Linked DNA regions of Homo sapiens: all the other regions are linked to region 2. Evidence: promoter capture Hi-C in 16 types of primary human blood cells and fetal thymus (Javierre and others, 2016). All regions are on one chromosome and are shown on one strand. The core of a region is centred on a gene start or on the middle of the fragment in contact, and the rest is flanking DNA. Distances in the headings are between cores, read along the strand shown. Region 1 has its middle 17 kb from the start of PARVB. Region 2 holds the start of LINC00207 (long intergenic non-protein coding RNA 207). Region 3 holds the start of SULT4A1 (sulfotransferase family 4A member 1). Region 4 overlaps SAMM50 (SAMM50 sorting and assembly machinery component).

What was found. Contacts are between HindIII fragments. The CHiCAGO score rates a contact against its expected background, and 5 or more counts as called.
Region 1: a contact is called between a fragment that was not itself captured here and the fragment with the promoter of LINC00207 in region 2, in 1 of 17 cell types (naive CD8 T cells). The highest score is 5.2, in naive CD8 T cells.
Region 3: the fragment with the promoter of SULT4A1 here is called in contact with the fragment with the promoter of LINC00207 in region 2 in 3 of 17 cell types (total B cells, M0 macrophages and endothelial precursors); the score reaches 6.6 in total B cells.
Region 4: a fragment that was not itself captured here is called in contact with the fragment with the promoter of LINC00207 in region 2 in 8 of 17 cell types (naive B cells, naive CD8 T cells, naive CD4 T cells and 5 more); the score reaches 7.0 in naive B cells.

Annotation. Positions count from the first base shown.
Region 1 is chr22:44,005,153-44,010,077 of GRCh38, forward strand. It overlaps a transcript of PARVB not described here. Among named protein-coding and RNA genes, the nearest start is that of PARVB, 17 kb to the right of the region's middle. The HindIII fragment of the contact is 198 bases long and covers 1,706-1,903 here.
Region 2 is chr22:44,567,759-44,572,768 of GRCh38, forward strand. It overlaps LINC00207 (long intergenic non-protein coding RNA 207), which reads left to right and starts at 1,582. Exons shown (of 4, transcript NR_028411.1): 1 at 1,582-1,683; 2 at 2,742-2,830; 3 at 3,618-3,734; 4 at 4,281-4,691. It also overlaps the pseudogene KRT18P23. The HindIII fragment of the contact is 7,812 bases long and covers 1-4,701 here.
Region 3 is chr22:43,860,123-43,864,762 of GRCh38, forward strand. It overlaps SULT4A1 (sulfotransferase family 4A member 1), which reads right to left and starts at 2,391. Exons shown (of 7, transcript NM_014351.4): 1 at 2,092-2,391. The coding sequence starts at 2,260. RefSeq lists an enhancer at 207-706. The HindIII fragment of the contact is 4,757 bases long and covers 1-3,971 here.
Region 4 is chr22:43,986,117-43,990,489 of GRCh38, forward strand. SAMM50 (SAMM50 sorting and assembly machinery component) reads left to right here. Exons shown (of 15, transcript NM_015380.5): 13 at 2,995-3,141; 14 at 4,149-4,290. Among named protein-coding and RNA genes, the nearest start is that of SAMM50, 33 kb to the left of the region's middle. The HindIII fragment of the contact is 222 bases long and covers 1,336-1,557 here.

The sequences.
Region 1 (4,925 bases), core at 555-3,054, 560 kb before region 2:
GCAGTGGCACAATCACGGCTCACTGCAGCTTCAACCTCTTGGACTTAAGCAATCATCCTGCTTCAGCCTCCCAAGTAACTGAGACTATAGGCGTGTGCCACCGTGCCCAGCTAATTTTTTCTATTTTTTTTTTTTTTTTCTGTAGAGACAGGGTGTTGCTATATTGCCTAGGCTGGTGTCAAACTCCTGGGCTCAAGCAGTCCTCCTGCCTTGAACTCCCAAAGTGCTGAGATTACATGTATGAGGTACCACGCCTGGCCGTTTTTTTTTTTTTCTTTTTACACAAATAATAGCATACTGTAGTTCCTGTTACATGCTTTTCTCTTTCTTTTCTTTAATTTTTTCAGAGACAAGGTCTTGCTCTGTCACCTAGGCTGGAGTGCAGTGGTGCTGAGGCAGGAGAATGGGTTCTGGAGGCAGGGTACCTAAGGCTGATTTGCACTGATTTCCTAGAGCTGAATCAAAAGGAAAACCCCACCTCTCCACACCCAAGTAACGAAAGGATCAGAGGCTACTCAACCCTCCCACCTTTCCACTGCATGGCAGATGAAAAATGGGAAGTTCCTCTGATTGGTCCCCTCCCACAACCAATCAGACTGGTCGCAGGCCACTTCTTCATTTACATCGGTTGTAATCAAGTAACAACCTAGAGGGTATTTAAACCCCAGACAATTCTGTAACCAGGGCTCTCAGCCACTGCTAGAGCCTGCTCCCACTTTGAGGAGTGTACTTCTGTTTCAATATATCTGTGCTTCCGTTGCTTCATTCTATTGTTTCTTTGTTTGTGCGTTTTGCCCAATTCTTTGTTCAAAACGCCAAGACTCATAATCAAGACCCTCCACTGGTAACAGCGCTATCATAGCTCACTGCAGTCTCAACTCCCTGGCTCAAGGGATCCTCCCACCTCAGTCTCTGGAATAGCTGGGACCACAGGCGCATGCCACCATGCCCAGCTATTTTAAAAGTATTTTTTATAGAGGCAGGGTCTTGCTATGTTTCCCAGGATGGTCTTGAACTTCTGGGCTCAAGTGATGCTCCTGCCTCAGCCTCAGCCTCCCAACCCTCTGGGATTACAGGCACAAGGCACCACACCAGGCCCATGGAATGCTTTCAATAGTGTATATCCTAGCATCTTACGCCACTCCAAGTGTAGTGCAGGAATCTGACGATACATTAGAAATGCAGAGTCCTGGCCAGATGCCGTGTCTCATGCCTGTAATCCCAGCACTTTGGGAGGCCAAGGTGGGCAGATCACGGGGTCAGGAGATTGAGACCATCCTAACCAAAATAGTGAAACGCTGTCTCTAACTAAAATACAGAAAATCAGTCGGGCGTGGTGGCATGCGCCTGTAGTCCCAGCTACTTGGGAGGCTGAGGCAGGGGAATCACTTGAGCCCAGAAGGCAGAGGTTGCAGTGAGCCGAGATCGTGCCACTGCACTACAGCCTGGTGACAGAGCGAGACTACATCTCGGAAAAGAAAAAAAGAAAAAGAAATGCAGAGTTCCAGGCCCTGCCCAGCCCACCCTGTGGTTTTGCAAGATTCCCAGGTGGCCTGTGTGTGCAGTCAGGATTGAGGAGCACCCTCTAGGTTTGAACTCAGCACACTTCCATACCTTCAGCCCTCTCCTCTCATAGGTAACTCAGCTCCCACCTGCCACGTGGCAGGATCTCCTGGACAGGCAGCCAGAAAGCTAGTAACAGCAAAGCTTTGTTACCTAACATTTCCTTCTATTTGTGTGCAGTACCTCCCCCTGTCATGCCCCGTGTGAGGGCAAATCACCTTCATCGCTGAATCTTTCACCTGGGCAAGTGCAGGAGGGGAGCCCCAGATCAGCTGCTCCCATCCATGTGAGTTCTGCTGCGCGGATGCAAAAGGCACAAAGATCCCAGGGACCCATAGGAAGCTTCACAATGGTTACCATCCACCTACTGTCAGTGGCCACTACCTTCCGTTCATTCAACCGTTTGGGGGACAGCGATCAAGCTCTTAGTGTGTGCGAGGCTGCGTTTGCGGGTACAGCGGGCGGAGATGACACTTCAGGTCTAGTGGGGAAGAACAGGTCAGCAGGGGGTACCCAGGAAAGATGGGGAGGGGGTGCCCAGCTCCGCCTATGGGAGGAAGGTGGGCTGGGGGGAGTGGAGTCTCCTCCGAGAAGCCCATCCTTTCCCGTGCTGCTTTGCAGTTTAGCATGGGGCCTGCATCAGGCTCTGCACTCCCACGCTGGAGGCCAGAGATTCATGTGAATTTCCAGTCGTGGGTCATGGCCAGAGCATCCTTTATTCTCTTTCCCAAGGTCGGGCTCTCTGTTCACCCTCTTCTGCCTCTGGGAGCCTCTGGACTCATTTCTTCCCTCCTGCGCTCCTCAGCGGGAAGTCTCCATCTCCTTCCTTCCTGTAGATTCCTCTTCTCCACGAGAAAGTTTTAGAGGCTTTTCCAATCCCCCAAGGCAAGACTTTGAATTACCTTTAGTTTTAGGCCCTGATTTATGTGGGTTTGACAACAGGCTTTAAAAAAGTTTTTTTTTGGTAAAATGCACATAAAATGTACCATTTGAGGTCTACAGTTCCGTGGCTTAAATCCATTTACACTGTTGAGCAACCATCACCACCACCCATCTCCAGAACTCTTTCATTCCGAAGCTGAACCTGCACCCATTAGGCACTCACTCCCAATTCGGTCCTTCCCAGCCCCTGCAGCCACTGTTCTACTTCCTGTCGCTATTAATTTGACTCCTCTAGGTGCCTCATCTAAGCAGGATCATACAGTATGTGTCCTTTTGTGACTGGCATATCACACTAGCATCATGTCCTCAAAGTTCATCTGCGTTGTAGGCTGAGTCAGAATTTCATGTATATACGCATGCATACACCACATTTTCTTTATCCCTTCATGTGTCAGTGGACGTTTGGGTTGTTTCTACCTTTAGAGACAGGTTTTTTTTGTTGTTGTTGTTGTTTTGTTTTTGAGACAGAGTCTTGCTCTGTCACCCAGGCTGGAGCACAGTTGCATGATCTCGGCTCACTGCAACCTCCGCCTCCCAGGTTCAAGCAATTCTCCTGCCTTAGCACCCCCGCCCGCCTCCGAGTAGCTGGGATTACAGGCGCGCATCACCACGCCCAACTGATTTTTGTATTTTAGTAGAGATGGGGTTTCACATGTTGGCCAGGTTGGTCTCAAACTCTTGACCTCAAGTGATCCACCCACCTCAACCTCCCAGCATGCTGGGATTTCAGGCGTGAGCCACCACGCGCGGTCTAGAGACAGGATTTTATGATTGAGTGAATATACCTGGATGCCTACTATGTGCAAGGAAAGCATGCTTCTGAGAAAAAAAGATTCATTTTGCATTTTTCTTTTAGATTTTGAGAAAACCATACCATTTAGTTATAGAAAAGTATTTATCTTTTGCAGCATACTTTGGCTGACTTTGATAACACTCAGACTGTATTAGAGATAGATGCTTGGGTCTGCCACTCTGAGGACACGGATCCAAGAGTGCTGCCACAACCTGCCTGTCTTTCTTGCTTGCTTATAAAAATAGAGATGACAGGCTGGGCATGGTGGCTTATGCCTGTAATCCCAGCGCTTTGAGAGGCCGAGGCAGGCGGATCACGAGGTCAGGAAATCGAGATCATCATGGCTAACACGAGGAAACCCCATCTCTACTAAAAGTACAAAAAAAAAATTAGCTGGGTGTGGGGGTGGGTGCCTGTAGTCCCAGCTACTCGGGAGGCTGAGGCAGGAGAATGGCGTGAACCCGGGAGGCAGAGCTTGCAGTGAGCCGAGATCGCACCACTGTGCTCCAGCCTGGGCGACAGAACGAGACTCCATCTTAAAAATAAATAAGTAAATAAATAAATAAAGCTCCATATTTTAAAAGCTCATTATAGTATTTAAGTAGCAGTGATGTTTGAATAGTCTTTTCATGCCTTCCCTTTTACTGATTTCCTTGCGAATTTGAAATTTTGACTGTCTTAAGATAATTTAGCACACAGAATTGAGCTTTACATTTTAATATTTTCCTGATTTAAGAGGATAATTTGCTTACAGCTGTTCAGACCTCTGATCTCAATTGGTAATGAGCTACAGTAGGTATGCTATGTGGATGAGCATGGGACAGATTTTAACATACAAGTTGCAAACCCAAACCCATGAAAGTTTCTATCACTTTTATGTCAGACTGAGTTTTTAACTGATGATAATGCCTGTCTGAGTATTCATTTTCTCAATCAAAATGTATTCTAATCAGTTTTGAAATCAGTTTTGAAATCAGTTCTATTTGCTCTAAATAACATCAACTTGTTATTTTTTTGTACGGACAGATACAAAGGCAGAGTTCAAATCAGCAATTCCCCATTGACAAAGTATTAAGGTAAAGTGGCATTCTGCCATAAAGGTTTATATATATATGTAAAAACCTATATATATACACACATATGTATGTAATATATAATATATGTGATATATGTAATATGTTTATTACATATATATAAAATAGGTTTTAAAACCTATTATATAAACTCTCTTGTTAATATATAAACCATTATTTAACCCTTTAAAAACCCTCTTTTATATAATAAACATTATATATGTAAAAACCTATATATACACATATATATGCTCATATATGCATACACATGTGTGCATATGAATCTTTTTTTTTTTTTTTTTGAGACGGAGTTTTTCTCTGTCACTGAGGCTGGAGTGCGGCGGCGTGATCTCAGCTCACTGCAACCTCTGCCTCCTGGGTTCAAGCAATTCTCTGCCTCAGCCTCTCGAGTAGCTGGGATTACAGGTGCCCACCTCCACGCCCAGCTAATTTTTTGTATTTTTAGTAGAGACAGGGTTTCACCATCTTGGCCAGGCTGATCTTGAACTTCTGACCTCGTGATCCACCCTCCTCGGCCTCCCAATGTGCTGGAA
Region 2 (5,010 bases), core at 332-2,831:
GACAAGTACTTGTCTCAGCAGATTGAGGAGAGCACCACAGTGGTCACCACGCAGTCTGCCAAGGCTGGAGCTGCTGAGATGACGCTCACAGAGCTGAGATGTACAGTCCAGTCCTTGGAGATCAACCTGAACTCCATGAGAAATCTGAAAGCCAGTTTGGAGAACAGCGTGAGGGAGGTGAAGGCCTGCTACACCTTGCAGATGGAGCAGCTCAACGGGATCCTGCTGCACCTGGGGTCAGAGCTGGCACAGACCCAGGCAAAGGGACAGTGCCAGGCCCAGGAGTATGAGGCCCTGCTGAACATCAAGGTCAAGCTGGAGGCTGAGATCGCCACCTACTGCCACCTGCTGGAAGATGGCAAGGACTTCAATCTTGGAGATGCCCTGGACAGCAGCAACTCCATGCAAACCATTCCAAAGACCACCACCCACCAGAGAGTGGATGGCAAAGTGGTGTCTGAGACCAACGACACCAAAGTTCTGAGACATTAAGGCAGCAGAAGCAGGGTACCCTTTAGAGAGCAGGAGGCCAATAAAAAGTTCAGAGGTTAAAAAAAATAAAAGAACTCTTACAACTCAATAATTTTAAAAATCCGGCTGGGCGGGGTGGCTCACGCCTGTAATCCCAGCACTTTGGGAGCCTGAGGAGGGCGGATCACCTGAGGTCAGGAGTTCTAGACCAGCCTGGCCAACATAGTGAAATCCCCTCTGTACTAAAAATACAAAAATCTAGCTGGGCGTGGTGGTGCATGCTTGTAATCCCAGCTATTCAGGAGGCTGAGGCAGAAGAATCACTTGAACCTGGGAGGTGGGGGTTGCAGTGAGCAAAGATCACGCCATTGCACTCCAGCCTGGGTGACAAGAGCAAAACTCTGTCTGGAAAAAAAAAAAAAAATTAAAAGTTCCCAAAAATGGGACAAAGATTTAAACAAACACTTCACCAAAAAAGATACATAAATGGCAAATAAGTACATAAAAATCATCTTCAACACCATTAGTCATTGGGGGAGGGGAGTACACATTTTAGTCACAGCAAGATACCACTACATATCCACCAGAATGGCTAAAATTTAAAGACCCTAACAAGTGTTGACAAAGATACGGAGCAACTAGAATGCATACATTGTTGGTAAGAATGTGAAATGGTACAATTGCTTTAAAAATCAATATGGCAATTTCCCGTAAAGTTAAACAAAATTGCTGTGACCAAACAATTCTATGTCTAGTTATTTATTCAATTAAAAAAAAAAGCAAGCACATGTCCACATAAAAACTTGTACAAGAATGTTCATAGCACTTTTATTTGTGATAGCCAAGAACTATTAAGAACTCAAATGTCCGTCAAGAGGAGAGTGGATAAATATTCCATTCTAAACCATGGAAGATCATTTAACCACAGAAAGGAGCAAACCCCTGAGGCCTGCAATACATGGATGACTCTCAAAAACATTCTACTAGGTGACAAAGCCTGATATAGAAGAGTATGTGCTGTGTGATGTCATCTATATGAACTTCTAGAACAGACAGGGCTCCTCTATGCTGATAGAAATCGGAACAGCACGGCCTGCAGGGGATGGGGAGGACAGGCGATGGAGACGGGGATCAGATGGGAGGGTGACCTGGTGAGAGATTTTCCAGCTGGCAGAAATGTCCTCTACCTTGAGGGAGGCGTGTGACATGGGAGTAAGTTTGCCAAAATTCATCAAACTGTGCTAAGATCTGTGCACTTCACTGAATATAAACGTCATTTAAATGTCTACTTCATTTAAAAAACAAAGAAGCTGATTGGAAGTGCTGAGCCCTTGGGTAGCGTTTTCTGACTGCGGTCTCCACTGCAGGTGATCTGGCGGATTGCTTCCCCGGGGGGTCACTGGGGGTCAGAGTGTGAGGATTTCCACTAGGAAGGTCAGTGGAACTGACCCCAACCAAAATGATCCCCCAGCTCCCCCCTGCTGCACGTGAGGCCTGGCTGCCGGTTTTCCGGGGGCTGCAAGGAGAAAGAGGCGGGGGTCTCCAATACTCAGTACATGCCCTGCTTTTGGAGTGGCATCCCCCAGTCCAGAGGCCTCTGCCAGACCCTTTCTTGATAATAAATCTTGGGGTTTCTGCCAGGCTCAGGGAGGGGCAATCTCCCAGTTGTGTAAGCAGTGGGAGTGGATAGCTGTCTCTGTCTCTGTCCCTCCCGTGAGAGGAAGACTAACTGCTGTTGTTTGAAACAATCCTCCTTCACTCCCCTCCAGAAATATCTGGCATCTCCATCCTCCCAGCCCATTGTTGCTTCTCATCTTTGCATGCTGCTGGCCGGCCATGTTTCAGCTTCTCAAGCTCACCTAGTGGGTTACGGCTCATCCACCAGGTTTCCAGTCTCCAAAATGTTGGTGCTTGGGCCTCCTCCCCTTTTCTCTTTCTGCTTGAGGGTAATGTCCGTAAAGTGATCTTTACCATCATTTTAGTGAGGGTTCAAGAAGAGGCAAATGTACATGTGTGCATCTGTGCCACCATCTTTGTCAGAAAGTCCAGTCTTTGCACCTTTTATCCTCATGGTTGCAATGTGGCTGCTCCTGCTCTGGGCATCAGATCCACATTCCAGGCAGGAAGAAGGGTGTGTGCCCCTGAGACCATCCCCTTTTATGGGAAATTAAACTGGCAGACTTCCTCTTATGTCCATGGCCACTCCTAGCTGCAAGGGAACCTGGTAACACCTATTTTTAAGGGGGCAAACTTTCACTCCAACAAAACAGGTTCTGTTTAAAGAGGAGAATGGATGGTTACACATCCTGCTTGGGATCCAATCACTGAACCAGAGGGGAACACCGTGCATGATGGGCTGGTAAGGCGTGGGGGTCAGTACAGCATGACACAGAAGGTGAGCTGGCTCCTTGAGGGAAAAACAAAGTGCTGGCCCCAGAGGCAAGGAAGGGTTGCTGGCGGGCAGAGAGGACGCTGTCCGGAGCCCACAGTAGATTCTCCTTGATCATTCACTCCCAGTTCCCTTCCTGCTCCTAGTTCAGTCCCTGACTCCTCTTCTCAGTGCTGTCACTGTCCCTGTCCTGGGACCAGGGTAGGGGATGGGAGGAGAGGTCTGCACGTTGCTGAGCCTTGTGGAAAGGTGACCGTGGACCTCTGGGAGGATGATCTCATCACTTTCTGAAGGAGGCGTCGAGCTGAGATGCTAACAATAGCCAAGCACGATGCCGGCCTGATTGGAGAGGCTAAAAAAAGCAGCTCATTCCAAAGCCTCATCAGGGAAGAAAAGGGCCACGAAGGCAGGTTTGCAGGGCTTTAGGGAGGAGGGGGAGAGGGATGCAGAGGGATGAACTGAGTGGCCTGAGTCTCAGCACAGCTGTGGCCATGGGCTGCCTCCATGTCCAGGAACACCAGGTCTGCCATGCACCACCCACCTGCCCCCATGTTTGCACAGGGCACCGGGGAAGACCTTCAGCCCTACTGGGCTACCCCTTGAGTACCCTCTCCTCCCACATTGGAAGGTCTTCTGCTTCCTGGAGCTTGGCCTGCCTCGGGAGGAGGAGAAAATGGTCCATGTCCCCAGAGAGCCCATGATGTGCCGGCCTAGGTGAGCACTCTTCGCACCTCATGCCATGGAACTTTTGCCACAGCCCTACCCACTTTACGGATGAGGAAATGGAGGCTCGGGAGATGAAGCTGGCAGACTTCCTCTGGAACTTCCTCTGGACATCTGGAGGGACGTCCTGTCAGCAGAGCAGGCTGGACTGGTGAGTTTCCTGCTGCTGGGAGTCCTGGCTAATGTGTTCAGCCCCCACTGACCTCTCTGTGCCCTTGATGTTTTTGAGCCTCATGGTCTGCCTCCCACCAACATCTTCTGTCTCCTCCCCCATGCCCCAGTGGCAGCTGGTGTAGAGGGTGGCAAATGACAACCTCAAGGCCAGAGAGGACCATAACATGCCCACAGCCACACAGCCAGTAACAGGCAGAACTAGGGCTGGAACCCACATCGCCTGCCTTCTGGCTTCTTCCTTACACCATAGCACAGCAGAGACAGCATCAGAGGCGAGGCTGGACAGGCCAGCTAAAGGAGGGTGCTCGGACCCTGCCCCATGGCCAGCAGCACCATGCCTAGCTTTCCGCCATAAGCCTAGAGAGAAATAACGAGGCCCGAACTTATCTGCACTGAAAAGGCAAAGTTACAAATAAAGAACGGCTTCAAGCCCGATGATTGGAAACTTAGCTGCGTTGCCATCTGTCGCAAATGCCACCGCGTTCTTCGTAACCCCCGATGACAATTTCCTCTTCATTTTCAGCTTCACAAAGAGGATGCAGCCCCACCTCCCAGCGGGAGTCAGTTCTGCTCTGAGACGTGAGGCTCAGAATCAGATGAAGACTCCTGCTGCTGCATCTTGAAGATAATGATGCTGTTGCTCCCGGCTGGAACCACAGCAGTGGCGATGAGTGAACAGCCAGCAGAGTGGAGCGGCCACACTGATACAGGTGAGGCTCCAGCACTGCCGCAGCCCAGGGCCAGGCAAAACCGCCTTCCTATCCCCCGGGAGCCGAGGCCTCCGAGATCGGCGCTGGGAGGTCGCACAGTGCAGGCAAATCACACGGACCTCAGAGCAGGGTCCCTGGCCGTGAAAACTCAAAAGACACAGTCTTTAAAATAAGGACAGAAAACTGTATTTAGTGCCACAATAAAGCTGTGTCACAAACTACCCAAAACTTGGAAGCTTCAAATAAGTGTTTATTTGACTCACAGTTCAGCAGTTTCAGCTGGGCTCTGTGGCGCGATTCTTCTGGTCTTGGCGGGGCTCACCCACGTGTCTGGTGGGCGGCTAGCTGCTGGCAATGAGCCTGAGTGCTCCTCACCCTCCCAGGCTGAGCTGGGTGTGTCCTCGTGGCAATGGCAGAGGTGCAGGAGAGCAAGCAGAGGGTACACAGCCCCCCGAGACTCAGCTCAAGGTGGGCCACAGCCACTTCCGCTTTGTCCTGTTGACCAACATGGATCACAGGGCCAAGCCCAGAGTGAGAGGTGGG
Region 3 (4,640 bases), core at 1,141-3,640, 710 kb before region 2:
CAGGCCCTTCCGGCTCTGACCACCTGCAAGTTCATTAGGATCTCCTACACCTGGGCACTGGAAATCCAAGGAGGCCCGTGGGTTCCCTGCCATGGCAGGTGAATGGGGCACCTGTTAGTCCTGGCTACTTGCCCCAACCCCAGCACCAACCATGTCTCCCCCATCAGACTGAGAGCTCACTAAGGACAGGCACCAGATGGGGCCCTCTCGGCTTCCCCAGCCCCTAGCAAAGCATCTGGGCACAACAGGTGTTCAGGGCTTAAAAGTCAGCATTAACCACGAGCCTTTCCAGCGTGTGTCTGGACGTGGGCTAAGCGTTCTCACCCGCCATTTTGCTCATCCTCACAGCCACACATCAGCGGGCCGAGGTGGTCTCTTCTCCCTCCGCAGAGACCACAGCTCAATGGGATTCTATGATCTGCCCAGGGTCACTCTGCTGGTAAGCCGCAAAACTGCATTCAAACCCAGGACTTCCAACTCCGAAGCCAGGTTCTTAATGTGTAAGCACTGATGCCTGCTACAAATCCATCCCCAGTAGCAGATGGAAGGAAAGGAAAAGAAAATATGAACTGGGCTACCAGAAGTCCACTTGGAGGGGCCTCAGAGAAGTGACACAAACCTCAAAATCCCTAAGTGGCTGAGACTTCCAGCATTTTAAAGCCTCCAAGAAAGAAGGCTAGGTCCCCCTCCTTCTTGGGCCCTCACGGTTTTCCAAGGGCAACGGAGCACCCATAAGGCAGGGGAGAGGCTGGCCGTGGACCGGGAGACCTAGCTAGACCTGACCTCTGTCCCTCAGCAACTGTGTGACTCCGAACAATTTGTGCCTTCTCTGAGCCTCTGAAAAAAAGGTGTAAGAGTCCCTCACAGATTAACAGCGATAGAGCACTTGGCCCGCAGGACTTAATGAGTGGCCACAGAAGCCAACGACACGCTTAGCCATTCCTAAAGCATTTTAGGTCCCACCCCATGCGGCGACTGGCATGTGCTCAAGATAGCAGCCCATCGAACGCTCTGTTCTCCAACCAACACCCTCCACTGAGAGTCCCTACTCCAATCTTCCTCAGAAGAATGTCAGAGACCTGCCCTCAGGTGTCTGGAACTCCATACAGCTACAACAGCCAAGCCTACAGCTTTTCCTGAAACTGCCCGACTGCTGGTCCGGCGTGACCTTAGAGCCAGACACCTTCTAAACCACGCTGTGATTGCCTCAAATACAGTGGCAACAAGGAAATCCCAGGGCATGTTTACAGAACAGGAAAGCTGCTACCTCCTTTCCCTAAAAACCTCAGATGGGGTACTATACAATCTCCTACCTCAGGTCTGGAAACAGACCAGCCTAGCTTTAATTCCCAGGTCAGCCACTCACCAGCTGAGTGACCTTGGACCAGCCTCTTCCCCTCTCTGAGCCTCTGTGCCTAGACTGTAAAGTGGGAATGACCACCACTAGCTCACACAGCTGTTATTGTGAAAGTGACGTCAGCTAATGCTGGGAAATGTGAATGCCCCAGGTCCTGCCTCGGTGATGGAGGCAGCCCTGAAACAAGAGAATGTACAAGCAAGGCACTCCAGGCGGGGACTGGTCCCATCCCCCACCCGGAGCCCAGGCTGGAAAGGAGGGACGTTACGTTTCCACGCTGAAAGCCCTGACGCCCATGTTATCTCCCTTCCCAGGTGAACACCAGGACTTTGCACTCATCAAAGGTTGGGCAGGATTCAGGAACAGAGAGGTTGAGTGACCTGTCCAAGGTCACACAGCCAGCCAGGTAAAGGGAGAAGCAGGGATGGGTGGCGGCCCTGGGCCCATCCTCCTGCAGCGCCGGCCAAATAGGCTCCATCTCCACGGAAGGGGCCGCTCCCGAAGGTCTCTGACCTTGGTTTCCCCAGATGAGAACCAAGCCCCTTCCCACCCCCACCCCACCCCACCCCGCCCCGCAGGGATCCGAGCATCGGGAGAGCGGTGGGCACGGCAGGGGCGGAGGCCAAGGGCGACCACCCGGCCCAGCAGAAGCCCCGGGCGCGGGCGCGGCGTCTACGCGGCCGCGCTGCAGGGCTGGGGCATGGCGTGGCGGGCGCGGTCGGCGCGGGGCTCACCGGACTTGGGGTAGGTGACGATCCACACGTCGCTGGGCCGCACCGGGAAGTTGGCGATCTCCTCCATCTTCCCGCGGCAGAAGGGCGGCAGCCGCACGCCATGGAACTCGAAGTACTTGCTCTCGAACTCCCCCGGGGTGCTGGGGGTCTCGGCCTCGCTCTCCGCCATGCCGCCGCCGTCGCCGTCGCCGCCGCCGCCTCCCGGCTCGCAGCCCGCACGCGCCCGCGCCCGCGCCCGCGCCCGCGCCCCGCACACGCTCGCGCCCCACCGGCGCGCGGCGGCAGCTCCGCAGGCGTGACGTCATGGCGCCGCCGACGCGCGGCGGAGGCTCCGCGGGTATGACGTCATGGCGCCGCCCGGCACGCGGCCGCGGCGCTGCACGGGCGTGACGTCATGGCGCCGCGGAGCCGCGTCCTCCCCGCCCCGCCCCCGGCCGGGGTCACCCACCCGCTGCCGGGGCTGACAGAGACCCTGGCCCGCGGTCTGCAGCCTCCTCAGTCGTGCGTGCGTTCATTCCGCTCATAGCTTCTGTCACTCAGCAAGCGCTCAACACAGACGCATGAGATACCCTGGCTGGAAGGCCCTGAAAGGTAGTCGTCCATTCAACACGTGCTTAGCGCGCTGCTGATCTGTGCCAGGCACTGGGCCAGGGCCCCGACACGCGTCAGGGTAGAAGCAAGCAGAAGCCTGGCCCTGTTGGAGCTTACATTGGTAAATAACCAAGATAATTTCAGGTAAATATTAGGTCCTATTAAAAATATGCGTCTTCGCCAGGCGCGGTGGATCACGCCTGTAATCTCAGCACTTTGAGAGGTCGAGCACGGGCGGATCTCCTGAGGTCAAGAGTTCGAGACCAACCTGGGTAAATGGTGAAACCGCATCTCTACAAACATACAAAAAAAAAAATTAGCAGTGAGCTGTGAGCTTGCACCACTGCACTCCAGTCTGGGCAACAGGACGAGATCTTCTAACAACAACAAAAAAAAAGTATGGGCCACCTAGTCCAGCCAAAAAAACAAAGTGCTTTTTTTTTGCTTTTTTTTTTTTTTTTTTTTTTTTGAGATGGAGTCTCGCTGTGTCGCCCAGGCTGGAGTGCAGGGGCGCGATCTCAGCTCACTGCAAGCTCCACCTCCCGGGTTTACGCCATTCTCCTGGCTCAGCCTCCCGAGTAGCTGGGACTACAGGCACATGCCACCATGCCTGGCTAATTTTTTGTATTTTTTGTTTGTTTGTTTTAGTAGAGACGGGGTTTCATCGTGTTAGCCAGGATGGTCTCAATCTCCTGACCTCGTGATCTGCCCACCTTGGCCTCCCAAAGTGCTGGGATTACAGGTGTGAACCACCTCGCCCAGCCAAAAAGTGCTTCTTAATATCCCATGAGTAGGGGAGGGGAGTGTTGGATTGCAAATTCCAGGACCCCAGATCTATGGAGAAAAATTACAAAAATATACATTTAGTAAGGCACTTCTTGTGCAAACTATAATTTGAGAGCAACCGAGTTCTAGAGATCTCAGTGCAACCCCTTGCCAGTCATGCACTCAACAGACATATATGAAGCACCTACTAACATGCCTGGGGAAGCACAAAGATGAAAACAACACAGCCTGCTCTCATTCTCTGCAGCCGAGCATCATCAGCTGTGTAAAGGAAAAGAATGATTCCTACCTCTAAGTAGTGTAGCCAGGAAGATGGAAGGAGTTTACACCAACAAGAATCTGGAGCAGAGTGGCTGGACGGGACCTATTCCTACTCTCTCCTTCTTACTGTAGAGTGAGACACGTGCATTCTGACACCAAAGACATACACATGGGCTGAGAAGCGCAGGCCATGTGTACATAGCAGACAGAGAGAGGAAACAGCAATTAATCCTGACTTGGGAAGCTTGTAGATGTCTTTCCAAAAAAGAAAGAGGACATTCCGAGCACCCAGCCTTTATTCAGAATAATTAGGCCAATGGCAAAAGGGCATCTAGCCAAAAGCTAGAGGGATTGAGTGAATGAATGAATATCCTGATGTTTCAGGTGAGGGTTCTCACTGTGGGAGAAGGAAAATGTAAGTGGGGAATGCGAGAAGGCAGGGAAGAACTCTATGGTATTGGATTGGAATTGGAGGTATTGACATGAGTTTATGATATTTTAAAATTCCTATTTCTTATATTTGCTGGAAAAGCCTTTAGGCAGTGATATCTCAATAATACTAGGCATACCCACTGCCCAGATCTTTGCTAAATACTTCCCTCACCAAATGAACCTGGGGTTTCTTGGAGAAAAAGCCAACTCCAGGGCAAGGAAAGTACAAGATGAGCCTAAAATGTCTTGTTGAGTCTTGAACTCCTGCAAGTTCAAAAATGTTGGGAATAGGTCAGAAGGACACAGGGTATAACATGAAAGTATTATCATAGGTCAAATCGGAAACAATTTGAGCATGTTAGACAAAAATGGGAAAAAACCCACGTACCCAACAGTAGAATAGATAAATTGCGATATATTCATACAATGGAATACAGTAATTTTTTTAAAAAAGGAATGTAACTGAGAAGAATGTCACA
Region 4 (4,373 bases), core at 197-2,696, 580 kb before region 2:
ACTGCAACCTCCACCTCCCAGGTTCAAGTGATTCTCCTGCCTCATCCTCCTGAGTAGCATGATTACAGGTGCCCGCCACCATGCCCGGCTAATTTTTCTATTTTTATTAGAGACGGGGTTTCTCCATGTTGGCCAGGCTGATCTCAAACTCCTGACCTCGTGATTTGCCCGCCTTGGCCTCCCAAAGTGCTGGGATTACAGGTGTGAGCCAGCACGCCTGGCCAAGTTTTACTTTAATATGAAATTCTAGATGTGAAATCGCCAGATCTTTTAGGGCTTTATCGTACTTTCTGGGAAGGTTGTCTCATTTATACTCCTAGAACCGTCTCTGACATGCAACATCCGTCAGAGGTATCTCCACATGCTATGGAACTTTAAAACATCATTTAAGTGGATGCATATTATTCCATTATTAAACATTCTCCCCTGATTTTCTTACTTTTTTTTTTTTTGAGACGGAGTCTCGCTCTGTTGCCCAGGCTGGAGTGCAGTGGCGTGATCTCAGCTGACTGCAACCTCTGCCTCCCAGGTTCAAGCGATTCCCCCTGCCTCAACCTCCTGAATAGCTGGGATTACAGGTGCCCGCCATCACGCCCAGCTAATTTTTGTATTTTTTAATAGAGATGGGGTTTCGCCGTGTTGGCCAGGCTGGTCTTGAACTCCTGACTTCAGGTGATCTGCCCGCCTTGGCCCCCCAAAGTGCTCATATTACAGGCGTGAGTCACTGCACCCAGGATTTCTTAAAATCTTCAGCACCTTTGTTGCTTCCATTTTTATGTCATTATAAGCAACAACTACACTCTGCATAAATTTTTGTCGAAAGTATAGATTATTTCTTTTCACTCGTATTTAGAGTGCTTCATTACAGTGTAATTTTTAAGAAAAGTAACTTAAGTTTTTGATGGTTTTATTTCATCTGTTTATTATAAGCAAGTGTGATATGCCGAGTCTATGAGAGCTGAGCCTTTACCTACCTGAGAAGTAAGGCATGCTGGTGTTCCACTCACCACCTCCGTGCGGTTGGCCAGACTCTGTGGGCAAGAATGTAAATTGCTATAATTTTTTTGTGAAAGTGGTTTGATGTATCAAGAGCCTTAAAATGTGTATGTTCAAGAATTGTTAATAATACTATTAATGATAGCCCCAAGCTGGAAACTGGAAACCGAAATGCCCATCAACAGTAGGAAATGGTCAGATAATTATGGTATCTTCTACTGTAATGAGGAAGAACAAGTTACAGCCACTGGCTGAATGATGGCATGAGTAAATCTCAGAAACATGTCGGGAGGAAAAGCTAGACCCAGAGGAATGCCTCCTGGAAGATCCCATTTATAAAGCTTGGAAGCAGGTGAAGTGGCCTGTGCTGTGAGAGGGTGGGGCAGTGGCTGCATGTGGTATGGGCACCAGGTGGTGGTTAGAAGGGAAGGCAAGGTCTGATGTGGGGTGTGCTTGGTTTCTTGGTCCTGGTGCTCTCTGGGCAGATGTGTTTCAGATATAGAAATTCATTGAGCTGTACACTTAGGATGTGTATACTTTCCTATGGGTATGCACAATAAAAGCTTAAAAAAATACATGTTTGTGCCAGGAAACTCATCATAGGTTAATGTCCATGATAAAGGACTTAGAAACCAGTATGACAATAGAAGAGAAATAGATCATTAAATATTGGTCCACCTATGTTGTTTTTCAGGCATAAAAACCCCATTTTCAAGGAAGATAAAGCGTTAGGAGAAAGTGTTTACAATATATTAAAACTGAAAAAAAGTAGGACTGGAAACTGTGTATATATATATATATACACACACAGAGAGAGAGAGAGCAAGCAAGCACCACATTTTATTGGCTTGCTTATTTGGTTTTACATTTACATTATAATCCACTGGAAGAAAGGACATCAGGATGTTAGCTGTTTATTTCTGAATGGTAGAAATTAAAATATTTTCATTTTTTTCTCTTTATGTTGATCAGATGTTCTACAATGAGTATATTTAACTTTTATGTTCAGAATAAAATCAGTTATTTAAGAAGAGAGAGGAGGAGTGGTTTCTGGGAAACAAAAAACAAGGTTGTTCTCCTGCAATTTGTTCATTCTCTGTTCCCATCAGAGCTCTCGTGTTGAAAGGGATTAAGGAGATGTTGGTGTCTTTTTTTTCCTTCCTCTGGATTGTGAGGAACTGAAGTCTTTAAATGAATCAGCAGTTCATTCCTTGAAGTTAGTCTTGAAGACATCAGTATTTTCCCATTTCATGGTCTGTCATTTTGTATTAGAGGAGAGTAAGACACTGTATAAATGGTATTTTGCAACAAAGTATAAACCTTTGGGTTGTATGTTTTCTGTTGCTTTATAGTTTAAAATGGAATGGACAGGAACGTTTTTAGAAATATGCAAATACATGCTCTCAGTGGATAGGCTTACACTTTGGCAAAAGTAACCTAAATCCAAGCGGTCATGAACCGTTGAGAATTGTCTCTTCTCTGGAGACACTGAGCTGGAACCTGGTCTCGCTGTGCAGTGGGTGGCAGGCAGCCTCTGCCTTTTGATTAATCATGTGCAGCTGTCTCCACACACTGCAGAGACGCTTTCTGCATTTTGTCTCTATTGCGCTCTCGAAAATTTGGCAAAATAATGCATTTCATTTGCAGGTGGAAGTGAGTTGGTCATCTACATTTGTGGATAAAGTTATTGTCATGAGACTCATTTCTTCAAAGCATTTCACAGATACGATGAATGACAGAGTGCATTCCTTCCTCAACGACATTGGCTTTGTTTGCCTCCTCAGTTAAATCAAGGTGTGAAACAAACCAGGAGAAAAAGAAAGATTATTTAAAATGAGGCCATCAGTATCAGGAATGAGAAGAACAGCTGCTTGCAAACTCCAGCACTGTGTGGCGTTGTTTACAGGACAGAAATCTTGCTTCTGTAAGTTGTGGAAAGTTAACGTGATGTTAACCTTGTCGGACCTTGTTTTTGTTCTGCACCCCTCCTTTGCTTAGGAGACTACCTAGGTGGAGAAGCGTACTGGGCCGGCGGCCTGCACCTCTACACCCCATTACCTTTCCGGCCAGGCCAGGGTGGCTTTGGAGAACTTTTCCGAACACACTTCTTTCTCAACGCAGGAAACCTCTGCAACCTCAACTATGGTAAAACTTGCGCTATTCAAGAAACCATTGTAGTACAGTTGTTTTCATGTTTAAAAGCACAGTACACAAAGAGGTGTCTGTCTTTTTTTTTTTTTTTTGAGATGGAGTCTCGCTCTATTGCCAGGCTGGAGTGCAGTGGCGCAATCTCGGCTCACTGCAACCTCCACCTTCTGGGTTCAAGTGACTCTCTTGCCTCAGCCTCCCGAGTAGCTGGGACTACAGGCGCGTGCCATCACGCCCGGCTAATTTTTTGTATTTTTAGTAGAGACGAGATTTCACCATGTTGGCCAGGATGGTCTCGATCTCTTGACCTCGTGATCCACACCCCCCTTGGATTCCCAAAGTGCTGGGATTACAGGTGTGAGCCACCGTGCCAGGCCATGTCTGTCTTTTTAGATTACATAGTCATTAAAGTTAGAGACTGTGCCTTACTTGAAAAAAATTCTTACAACAGCTAACATAATGCCCAGCATTAAGTGGTTGGTTGAGCGAATGAAGCATACAAGAAAAATAATCATCTAATGCCCTTACGAAGAAAAATCTGTTTGTCTATTTAATAAACAAGTCATGATGGCCACAGAGCTGAGTAGGATTGGGTGCCTTCCTCAGGGAGTTCAGGTCCAGAAGAGACTCCCAGCAGATGCCTGGGTGCTAGGGGTGCCTGGAAAGCTTCCTAGAAGGCATGGAAGTCTCCAAGCTGAGACTCAGAGTGGGGCTTCCCAGGTGGTCAGGGGATGGGGAAAAGTCATTCTAAGCAGAGGGAACAGAATATGCCAGGCCCAAAGAATTGAGAAGGCGTGGCTCATTCTGGATGTGAGTAAGTGTGGCTCCAAGTCCTCTCTTGACCTGGGTCCTAATCTCACTTCATGCATCCTCCCTAATCTCTAGGCCTGGCTTTAAAAACAACTGCAGGGCCCAGCCAGGGGGAGCCAGGGCTTGTCTGGGAGAGCTGGGAGAGCTTGGAAGGACGGGCACGCACTGTTGCTCACAGGTCTTTCTCTTTTCAGGGGAGGGCCCCAAAGCTCATATTCGTAAGCTGGCTGAGTGCATCCGCTGGTCGTACGGGGCCGGGATTGTCCTCAGGCTTGGCAACATCGCTCGGTTGGAACTTAATTACTGCGTCCCCATGGGAGTACAGACAGGCGACAGGTACGTGTTGGGAATTATTTTCCACAATCACATCCCACTCTCCAGTAATTTTATTTTGTTTTGGACGTGGTTAATTTCATTAG